Regions from separate parts of the Homo sapiens genome. Here regions 2 and 3 are each linked to region 1. The links are contacts of gene promoters, found by promoter capture Hi-C in human tissues and cell types (Jung and others, 2019). All regions are on one chromosome and are shown on one strand. The core of a region is centred on a gene start or on the middle of the fragment in contact, and the rest is flanking DNA. Distances in the headings are between cores, read along the strand shown.

The links. The method cuts DNA at HindIII sites, captures the fragments that hold promoters and counts their contacts. A contact is called where the count stands out against the background at its distance.
Region 2: a fragment that was not itself captured here is called in contact with the fragment with the promoter of RNFT2 in region 1 in 3 of the 25 tissues and cell types used here (H1 embryonic stem cells, dorsolateral prefrontal cortex and liver).
Region 3: a contact is called between the fragment with the promoter of FBXW8 here and the fragment with the promoter of RNFT2 in region 1, in 4 of the 25 tissues and cell types used here (adrenal gland, aorta, heart left ventricle and 1 more).

What each region holds. Positions count from the first base shown.
Region 1 is chr12:116,736,621-116,740,142 of GRCh38, reverse strand. RNFT2 (ring finger protein, transmembrane 2) reads right to left here and starts at 1,828. Exons shown (of 11, transcript NM_001382266.1): 1 at 1,773-1,828. SPRING1 (SREBF pathway regulator in golgi 1) reads left to right here and starts at 2,074. Exons shown (of 5, transcript NM_024738.4): 1 at 2,074-2,353. The coding sequence starts at 2,243. RefSeq lists enhancers at 1,546-1,805, 2,574-3,522 and silencers at 1,996-2,255, 2,336-2,385. The HindIII fragment of the contact is 23,901 bases long and covers 1-3,522 here.
Region 2 is chr12:116,945,565-116,949,086 of GRCh38, reverse strand. All of the region lies in intron 3 of FBXW8 (F-box and WD repeat domain containing 8), which reads right to left. Among named protein-coding and RNA genes, the nearest start is that of FBXW8, 36 kb to the right of the region's middle. The HindIII fragment of the contact is 5,462 bases long and covers 1-3,522 here.
Region 3 is chr12:116,909,181-116,912,702 of GRCh38, reverse strand. FBXW8 (F-box and WD repeat domain containing 8) reads right to left here and starts at 1,753. Exons shown (of 11, transcript NM_153348.3): 1 at 1,348-1,753. The coding sequence starts at 1,665. RefSeq lists silencers at 1,286-1,545, 1,706-1,925. The HindIII fragment of the contact is 14,688 bases long and covers 1-3,522 here.

The DNA of each region.
Region 1 (3,522 bases), core at 579-3,078:
TCCCAGGTTCAAGCGATTCTCCTGCCTCAGCCTCCTGAGTGGCTGAAATTACAGGCTTACAGGCATGCGACACCACGCCCACCCAATTTTTGTATTTTTAGTAGAGATGGGATTTCACCATATTGGCCAGGCTGGTCTCAAACTTCTGACCTCAAGTGATCCGCCTGCCTTGGCCTCCCAAAGTGCTGGGATTACAGGCATAAGCCACCATGCCCGGCCCTCTTTGAAACTCTTAAGGTATTGTATTTCATCCTATTGTCAAACTAAGAGTCCTGATTGGGGAAGCCAGAAAATATGTTTTAAACCCTCCAACGGCTGCCCAGTGCAATCAGAATCAAACCCGAGCTCTGTCCATAGCCTACGGGTTCTTCCTGATGTAGCATCATCTGTTTCCAACTGCATTTCCTCCCATTCTCCCTTTTCCCACTCCTGTCCACCCACAGTGGCCCTTCTGTTCCTCTAATGTGTCAGCGTGTCCCTGCCTCAGGGCCTTTGCACTTGCTGTGCCCTCCCCTTGGAATACTTTCTCCTCTAAATGTGGCAGGGCTTGGTCCCGCAGGGCAAATGTCGTCTCTTCCCAGAGGCCTTCTCTTCTCATTCTCCTGACTCCCCGTAATATTGCCCTGTTTTATATTATTCATAGCACTTATTTGTTCATGTTTGCTTATTTATTTATGATTTGTCCTCCCCATTAGAATATAAATGCCATTCCTGAAAGTAGGGATCCTGTCTACTTGGATCACCCCTCTGCCTCAGCATCCAGGACACTGTTTGGCACAGAGTGGCGCTCAACAAGTATTTACTCAATGAATAAAACATCTATGGGTCTCCCAGTTCCCCTTTTCTAGATCCCTTGCTCCCTGTCCCACCTTTCACCCTAGCAAGGTAATAAGGGCCATCTACTTCCCATGAAAAGGTTTAGCCTCCGTGAATATCTTCTTGTCTCTGGAGGCAGAGCCAATATTGTGGATATAGGGTGTCTATATCAGTCAGATGGTGTCTGACTTCAGTTTAGGGCACGATTATTGGCTGTTGAATGACTTCCTAATCCTGACCAGGCTTCTTGAGGGGGCAGCAATGGTGTCACTAGGGCCACTGATTAAAAATGACCCGCCAGTGAAGCCTCCTTTCTCTTTTGAAAAATTAGGTAACAAACCGGTCAGCAGCAGCATCTTCATATATCAAGAAAAGGTCATTATATAAATATTTTTCAAGAATTTGCAATCTCAACTTAATCCTCCTCTCGCCCCTCCCTCCATTATCCCACATTGCAAATCCTTGGGGGAAAATAAAATTCATATTCCAAAGTTCTCATCCACACATTTAACTCCTAAATCGAATGCTCGAAACTCTACTTTCGGATGCTTGTATTGGAAGAGGCTTCGGATTCTTTGTCGGAAGCAGGCCGTACATAATTCTGGAATAAATTTTTGCACGCGGGATGCATCTGAATGAATGAAACGCTTTTTAATCCTCTGCTCTGTACATCCCACTATGTCCCTTTGAAGGACCGCACCGAGACTTTTCGATGCTTGCGATGGTTCAAGTTGCGCCCCTGGGGCCCGTTACAGGACTGCACCGAAATGCACTCAGAGGAGCATCGCCTGCATCACTTGGACTGGAAGCCGGCAGGTGCACTTCGGGAACAACGTCGCGAGCGCTTTTCATCCCTGCAACCAACACACAGCGCAAAACGCTCTGGGACTGCAAGGGCAGGAGACTACACAGACCATGATGGGAGAAAAGAAAAAAAAATCGCGTTCTCTTTTTACCTGCCCAGACAATTCAGCAATCACAGCCGCATCATTCAGGTCCAGCCAAGCCAATCACCCGCGCAGCCTGGGCAGCATGTGACTTCCGATGCTTCCGGCCTCCTATTGGGTGGTTTCTTGGCGTCGCCGGGTCCGGCGCTAGGACCCGGGCACAGCTACGCCCGCAGCACTCACGCGATTGTCCGCCCCCTTTCCCGGCACTTAACCAATAGGAGGCCGCCGTTCCTTAGGGACCAATGGTGAGAAGATCTTGCGCGACTAGCCCTTGTCGCTGCGGAGCGGAGGCGGGGCGTAGGGCGGGGTCACGTGGGGCTGCGCCCAAGGCTGCCGGGAGCAGACTGGGCTGCGGGCGGCGGGGCCGGCGCCTGCCTGGAGGGATGGGGCTGCCGGGCGCGTAGGGGCCATGCCGCCCGGGACCCGGGCCTGCCGCGTTCCGCGCCCCGGCCGCCGCGCCCCACGTCCGCGCCGGGATGGTGAACCTGGCGGCCATGGTGTGGCGCCGGCTTCTGCGGAAGAGGTGGGTGCTCGCCCTGGTCTTCGGGCTGTCGCTCGTCTACTTCCTCAGCAGCACCTTCAAGCAGGTCAGTGGCCGCCCTTCCCCTCCTCCCCTTCCCTTCTTCCTTCCTTCCTCCCCCTTACTTTACTTTCTCCTTCCTTCCTTCGTTACCTTCCTCCTTTTTTCCTTCCTCCCTGTCTTCCTACCCCTTCCCTTCCTTTCTTTCTCCCCTTCCCTTCCTTCCTCCTTCCTTCCCTTCTTCCTACCTCCCCTCCTTCCTTATCTTCCTCCTTCCTTCCCCTCTCCCTGCCTCCCTTCCTTCCTTACCTTCCTCACCTTCCTCCTCCTTCCTTCCTCCCCCTTTCCTTCCTCCCCCTTCCCTTTCTTCTTTCCTCCCCTTTTTCCTCTCCCTTCCCTTCCGTCTTTCTTCCTTCCCTTCCTCCTTCCGTCCTCCTCCTTTCTGTCCCCCTCTCCCTTCCTTCTTCCTTTACTCCCTTTCTTCCCTGACATCCTCTTTCCTCACTTCGTTCTTCCTCCTTCCTTCCCTTCCTCCTCTTTTTCCTTACTCCTCGCGTTTGTCCGACCTCCCGACTTCTGCAGCGGCGCCGCCGGGGCGTCCGAGGGTGGGGAGAGGTGCGCATTCCTGTCCCGGTCTCAGCACGGGTGAGGGACCTGCCCACCGCCTTGGTCCCTGCAGCGGGAAGGGGTTGCTAGGCCAGGGCAGAGCTGGGACTAGAACCCCGAGTTGAGGACCCTTCAGCGGTGGGGACTGCTTTTATGAACACCTCCCTGCTTTTCACCTGCCCGGTCCAGAGCTAAGAGAGGGCGTGCATTTGCTGGCTTCATCTTCGCAGCAGGCCTGGGAGAAGTGGGGTTCCCAGTATTACAGTGGGGGAAACCAAGACATAGGTGGCGAGGGTCGGCCAGCCCTCGCATGGGTGCCCTTCGTTTAATTTGGGGGCTCTGTGTCCTCCTGGGTGACTCAAAAGGACCCACAGTTCCTTTTATGCTTTTTGTGCATAACTTGATTGGTAGAATTCCACCCCTCCAACACACTGCACCCTTTCATTTTTCTTCCATGTGAGAATTTCTGGGAGAAACAGCAAGGAGCACGGGTGGGGAAATCTTACCCAAAGCATTAATAAGTTTGTCTAGAAGTCCAGGTTGAGTGCTTAGTTGTGTAGAAAGGGTGGTTACACCCCAGGGTGCACCCAGGATAATGGGTTATGCTGTTGTCCTGACATGGTTATAAAA
Region 2 (3,522 bases), core at 415-2,914, 210 kb before region 1:
TTCATGGAAATGGTATTTGAATGACAGTCTAGGCCAGGCACAGTGGCTCATGCCTGTAATCCCAGCACTTTGGGAGGCAGAGGCAGGAAGATCACTTGAGCTCAGAAGTTTTGAGACCAGCCTGTGCAACACAGGGAGACCCCATCTCTGCAAAAAATTTAAAAGACAGTCAGGTGTGGTGGCATGCACCTGTAGTCCCAACTATTTGAGAGGATGAGGCAGGAGGATCACTTGAGTCCAGGAACTTAAGGCTACAGTGAGTTATGATTGCAACACTGTACTTCAGCCTGGGCAAGAGAGTGAGAACCTATCTCTAAAAAAATAAAAAATTAAATTGAATTAAAATGAAGGGAATCTGAATGCACATAAAGTATTTACATGTGGGAGGTTGGGAAAAGTGAGATAGGCCACAAAGCAAGCATGAATAAAGGTATTCAAGAATACCATAATTTCAACTTTACCAGACTGGGACAAAGACTAGAAACAGTGTAAGTGCCCAGCACAGTTCTTAACATACAGCAAGTGTTCAATAAGTGGTAGCCATTATTATTATTATTTCTATTATTAGGAAAAAGATGACATCATTCCATTAAAATACACATTTATTAAGTACCTAGACTCTAGAAACTGAGCAAAGTAATTTGCATGATGGTCTTAACTTAATCCAAGGAATGAGTCTAAGGCTGAGAGATAAAACTAGACACATCCACGTGGAGCTGTCCTACAAGTGGAGATATGGGGAGGGAAGGCAAGGATCTGGGAGTCAGCTGTGTGAAGGCCGCAACCAAGGTTACAATAACAGAAAATCTCTTGTGAGGGAAAAAGTATTGAAAGAAAAATAGAGGGCCTAAGATGAAAACCTGCATTTATGCAAACACTAGGAAAAAAAACACTATGGCCACCACAATTAGTTTAGCAAATCATTTCCAGGTTGGCTCTGAAATGCAATTCCAGATAACTTCATGCATTTGCAGGCCATTCTCTTTGTGGAGGTACCTGAGAACCCTGGGGTCCCTTCTAGGGTCTCCCCAGACACTGACTTAAGAGGTACCAAACCAAATCGCCTGCCTAACCCATCCTGAAGTCGAGCACGCACAGCACAGAACCCTGCATCTGTGTGCAGAGGCCTATGCTCTCCTACAGCCAACCTCGCCTGAGCACTGAGCGTGGACCAGGCTCTGCAGGAGTGGCAGACACTTGATGACGATCATCCTCACCATGACGCCATGAGCAGTGCCACTCCTAGCCCCTACTCTAGAGATGAGAAAATGGAGGCAGACAAAAGTAAAGCAACTTGCCCCAACACTGCCTTTCATTTCTTTCTTTCTTTTCTTTTTTTTTTTTTTTTTTGAGACAGTCTCGCTCTGTCGCCCAGGCTGGAGTGCAATGGCGCAATCTTGGCTCACTGCAACCTCCACCTCCAGGGTTCAGGCGATTCTCCAATCTCAGCCTCCCAGTAGCTGGGACTACAGGTGTGTGCCACCACGCCCGGCTAATTTTCGTATTTTTAGTAGAGATGGGGTTTCACCATATTGGCCATGGAACTCCTAACCTCAAGTGATCCATCCGCCTCAGCCTCCCAAAGTGCTGGGATTACAGGAGTGACCCACGGTGCCGGGCCGCCTTTCATGTTTTGATAAGGCTTTCTTTCATTCCAGAATTTTGGTAAGAATCCCACCATTACATTTAATGAAAGATACATCATTTAAAATTTCACTCCTAGAATTCTCCTTGTTAACACTGTCAGGAAATGGACCTTACACGCTCCAAATAGAAGTCTCCCTCATGTTTGGTTCAGCCTGCAGTCCGCTCCAGTTCACTCAATCAACAGCCATGTAGTGAGTACTTACCTAACACATGACTTCCTGTTCATTAGAAATAAATACTAAATAGACATTCAGCTAGATTGTATATAACTTGTAAAGTGTTACTAAGTGCCAAATGCTAGGTGATGGGTCTTTAAAATATCGTCACTTCTGCCACCTCCAGGCCCAACAAGGACATACCTGTCCTCTTCCCTTGCTTTCTCTATCACCAAAGAGGAAGCAAAAAACACAGCTGCTGCTTTTCTCTACCACGGTCTGACATCTTCGAATTCAAGCCTGGGGATGCCAAATATCTCCAACTCTCCTGCTTGTAAATCTCAAAAGTATCTCTCCTTTCTGGAGAGAAAGGACCCCGTTAACATTCAGCTCTCAAGCTTTCCTTAAATCGCAGCCCCTCCCACCAGGGTTAGACCCTCTGCTTTCTGACCCCTTGTTTATCTGGGCAGCTTTCTTTGTCATACCTTTCTGCCTGTGTGCATCACATGGACCTACCCAGGCACACGGGCAAGAGGGACTGGGGGCTCCCTCCAGACGAGTTTATTACCGTAGGTGGATGGAAAAGGGCACTGTGGGGCCAGCGTGACCTGTCTTAGTGGTGGTGTCTTAACAGCCTAAGAAAGGATAGCCACACTAACTCTCAGAACAGTGGTTCTCGACTGGGAGGGGATTTTGATTCCCAGGGGACATCCAGCAATGTCTAGGGGCATTTCTAGTTGTCATGACTTGGGGGAGGAAGAGAATGCTACTGGCGTCTAATGGGGAGAGGCCAGAGATACTGCTCAACAGCCTGCAATGCACAGGACAGCCCCGCACAAAACGAATTAGCTGGCCCCAAATGTCACTAGTGCTGGGGTTGAGAACCCCTGAACTAGAGAGACACTGCTCTTATTGACTTTGCTAGAAACCGTGTGAGGTTGCCCAGATCAAGCGTATTGGTCACTAATCAGGTTAGGAGGTGAGTAGGGACAGACAGGCACATAGGCAATTTGTCATTATCAGTAATGCACAAAAGCTTGTTAATCTCAAAGTCTATTAGGATTGACCTTTATGGGAGTAAAGAGAATGGTTCCATCCCTTCTCTACCATTGAATCTCCAGCCTCCCAGGTGAGAAAGAAACACTGCCACCACACTGCTGTCTCGTCATGCCTCAAACAGCTTTATGTAACACGGCTCTTGACAGTTATCTCCTATGGAAACACTTCACTGTGCAAATTCTTAGCTGTGATCTAATATTTCCGTAGAGACTTTGAAGTGATAAATGTTATGGAAGCACGCCAATAGGTTATGTGAGGGAAGAGAAGACAGTGCTTAGAGATGTTTAATCATCTCCCTCTTACATTTACTAGAAATGACATTTTCAGCTCCTCTTTTGTATGCAGGTAGTGCTTTTGCTTTCTGGGTCCCTCCAGAGAGTCGGTGAAAGTCAAAGGGGCTGCACAGAGCACTCCTCTGACCACCCTAACAATCCGAGAGGAAGTGGCTGGCAACCCAATCTCACCCTTCCTCTCCTGCAGAATAAGAGGATGTTCCCAAATCTTGAGGCTGAAAACAGAGGCAGATCATCTAATGGTGAACAAAATGGGCAACAAGTCACCAACAGCTGAAGGGGAGGCTCAGTGTACCCCTCTCCCTTCGCTGTTGGCAATTAATCTCAGGCTATGAGTGAAAGCTTGGATTCCCATGTCCTTGCAGGCT
Region 3 (3,522 bases), core at 504-3,003, 170 kb before region 1:
TCACGAGGTCAGGAGATCGAGACCATCCTGGCTAACACAGTGAAACCCCATCTCTACTAAAAATACAAAAAGAAATTAGCCGGGCGTGGTGGTGGGCGCCTGTTAGTCCCAGCTACTGGGGAGGCTGAGGCAGGAGAATGGCGTGAACCTAGGAGGCGGAACTTGCAGTGAGCCGAGATCGCGCCACTGCAACTCCAGCCTGGGCGACAGAGCGAGCGAGACTCCGTCTCAAAAAAAAAAAAAAAAAAAAAGAATGATTCTCAATTGGGAGGATCACTTGGGCCCAGGAGTTTGAGACCAGACTGGGCAATACAGGGAGACCTTGTCTCTACCAAAAAATTTAAAAAATTAGCTGAGTGTGGTGGCGCATGCGTGTAGTCCCAGCTACGCGGGATGCTGAGGGAAGAGGATGGCTTGAGCCAGGCAGTTTGAGGCTGCAGTGGGCCGGGAGAGCAACAGTACACTCTAGCCTGGGCAACAGAGCAAGACCCTGTCTCAGAAAAGAAAGAAAGAAAGAAAAAAAAAAAAAAACAGGAAAAAAAAAAGTGGGTTCCCAATTGTAAAGCTGTAGGGACTTCCTTTGGGCCTAATTTAAATCAAACCATTAGAACCTGGAGCCTTGTCCTCTTAACCTGGGAGCCACGGATGCATTTCAGGTGTTCTTGATTTTCCCAACTTTCTGAAGGGGATTATTTTTAACGGACACAGGGTCCCCAGCTTCCTCCAGATTCTCCAAGGTATCCACGCCCCACAAAAAGATAAGAAACTCTATCCTAATGAAAGTGCCCAGGAGATTCTTCCTCCTCTTCTTCCTTTTTTTCTGAGATAATTTTTTTGAATACGTGCACGGTTACAAAAATTAAATAGTGCAAACAGTATACAAAGGTAAAATTACTTCCTATCCATCATCTGGGTCCTCCTTTTCAAAGGCAACCTTTGTTCAAAGTTTAGGTAGCCTTCAAGAGCAGGATTTCTCAACCCCACACTTACTGATATTTTGTCCTGGATAATTTTTTTGTGCGTGGTGTCCTGTACACTGTAGGATGTTCAGGAGCATCTCTGGCCTCTACCCACTAGATGCCCAGTAACATGCACACATACACACCCCGATGAGGCACCCAAAAATGTCTGCAGACACTGCCACATCTGGGGGAACAAAATCGCCCTGGTTGGGAAGTGCTGCTTCCAGAAAGACCCCTATGCAAGCACAAACATTGGTGTTTGTGCGTCTACTCATTTTCTCGGGCAACTAGTGGCACACAGTTACTCTCCAAATCACTGCAGGGGTTTGTCCTGGGGGCGGGGGCCGGCGCAGGCATGGGCGGGGGGGAGGCGACGGCCACTCACCAGGTCGCGGATGAGCTGGTCCACCAGCTGCTCCCCGCCCCCGGCGCCCTCGCGGGCCAGAGGAGAACGTGAGCGGCTCGCTACGTCCTGCCCCTCGGCCCGAGTCGCCCGCGCCGCCGGGGGCCTCCCCGCGCCCTCCAGGAGACGCTGGGCCAGCGCCGGGTCCCCCGAGGCCTGTTCGCCGCGCCCGGAGCCCACCTCCGGCCGCCGAGCCCGCCTCTCGGCAGCCTCGGGCCGTCGCCGCTTCTTCGGCGCCTGGGCCTGCGCCAGCTCCTCCTGCCAGCGCCGACGGAACTCATCCAGGCTGTAGTCGTCCATATTCGCCGCTCCCGGCGCTCCACGTTCTCCTCGGTTCCACCGGGTGCCACGAGACAGTCCCGCCCAGGGAAGTGTCCGCCGCGGCCGGAAGCCGCTGCCGCCGCCGCTCTAGGGTTCCGGGTGGGCGTCCACGCCCCCGCCACGCCCCCGGCGCTGCCCCTGTACGCACGTGGTGGTCCGGCTTGTGGCTTGTGGCGCCCAAAGCAGAGGTTTACGCAGCTGCCCCTCAGCCCGTCAGCTCTGCTGCCTATCACTTTTGCTAAGCTCTGACTTTGCGCCAAGCATTGTTCCTTCATTCAACAAACATTCATTCAGCAACTACTATATGCCAGGCACCAAGAATTCAGCATTTAAATCTGTAAAACAAAACAAAAACTCTGACGTCTTGGAGCATGCGTTTAAGTAGGGAGACTTTAAACAAAGAAATATGAACATTTAAATCAGTGATAGGTATTAGGAAGAAAACAAAATAAGGTAAGGTAAGGGGAGTAAGGATTGATAGTGAAAGTCTGTTTAAGATGTTATTTAAATTAAAATCTAAAAGAGAATCAACAGGTGGATAAAGAAACTGATATATACATATGGTGGAATACTACTCAGCCATAAAAAAGGAATGAATTCATGGCATTCGTAGCAACCTGGATGGGATTGGAGACTATTATTCTAAGTGAAGTAACTCAGGAATGGAAAACCAAACATCGTATGTTCTCACATATAAGTGGGAGCTAAGCTACGAGGATGCAAAAGCATAAGAATGACTTATGGGACTTTGGAACAGGGGAGGGGGACGAGGGGAGGGTGGGAAGGTGGGGAGGGATAAAAGACTATAACTTGGGTTCAGTGTATACTGCTCGGGTGATGCGTGCACCAAAATCTCACAAATCACCACTAAAGAACTTACTCATGTAACCAAATACCACCTGTTCCCAATAACCTGTGGAAATAAAAATTTTTTTTTAAAAATCTGAAAGAGAAACCAGCCAAGGGAAGGTCAGATCTTAGGAGAGAGATTTCCAGAAGGAAATCCAAGGGCTTTAAGATGGGAAAGAAAATGACATACGATGGCGTTCCACTTAAAAATGTTTTCTTTGCACCTGATATTCCCTCAGCAGGGAACTTTTCCCCCCACCTTGACTTGGTTAACTCCTACACATCTTTCATATCTCAACTCACATTTCACTTAATCTTCCAACCTCCACTCAAGAAACATCAGGTATCCCTGTTACTCATTCTCACAGCATCCTGTACTTCTCATCATAATACATAACACAATTTGTAATTTTATTTTTATGTATATATATATATCCCTTCCCTTCTAGATTGGCAACTCTTAGCTTTGAGACTGGTGATTAATACATGCTCAATAAATGGTTTTTTGTTTGTTTGTTTGTTTGGTTTGTTTTGTTTTTGAGACGGAGTCTCGCTCTGTTGCCCAGGCTGGAGTGCAGTGGCGCGATCTCGGCTCGCTGGAAGCTCCGCCTCCCGGGTTCACGCCATTCTCCTGCCTCAGCCTCCTGAGTAGCTAGGACTACAGGTGCCCGCCACCACACCTGGCTAAGTTTTTGTATTTTTAGTAGAGATAGGGTTTCACCATGTTGGCCAGACTAGTCTTGAACTCCTGACCTCAAGTGATCCACCCACCTCAGCCTCCCAAAGTGCTGGGGTTACAGGTGTGAGCCACCACTCCAGGCTCAAAGATGCTCTTGCAATTAACTGTCCCTTATTCCTTGTCTAACTCTTCTTAGTCTCTCAGGCCTCTTCTCTAGAATCACTTCTGTAAATAAACTAGCTGCCTACAAACCCAGGGCTCAGGCTTGCTTACTGTGGGAAACCAGGCTTGGACAACCTTCACTGTAG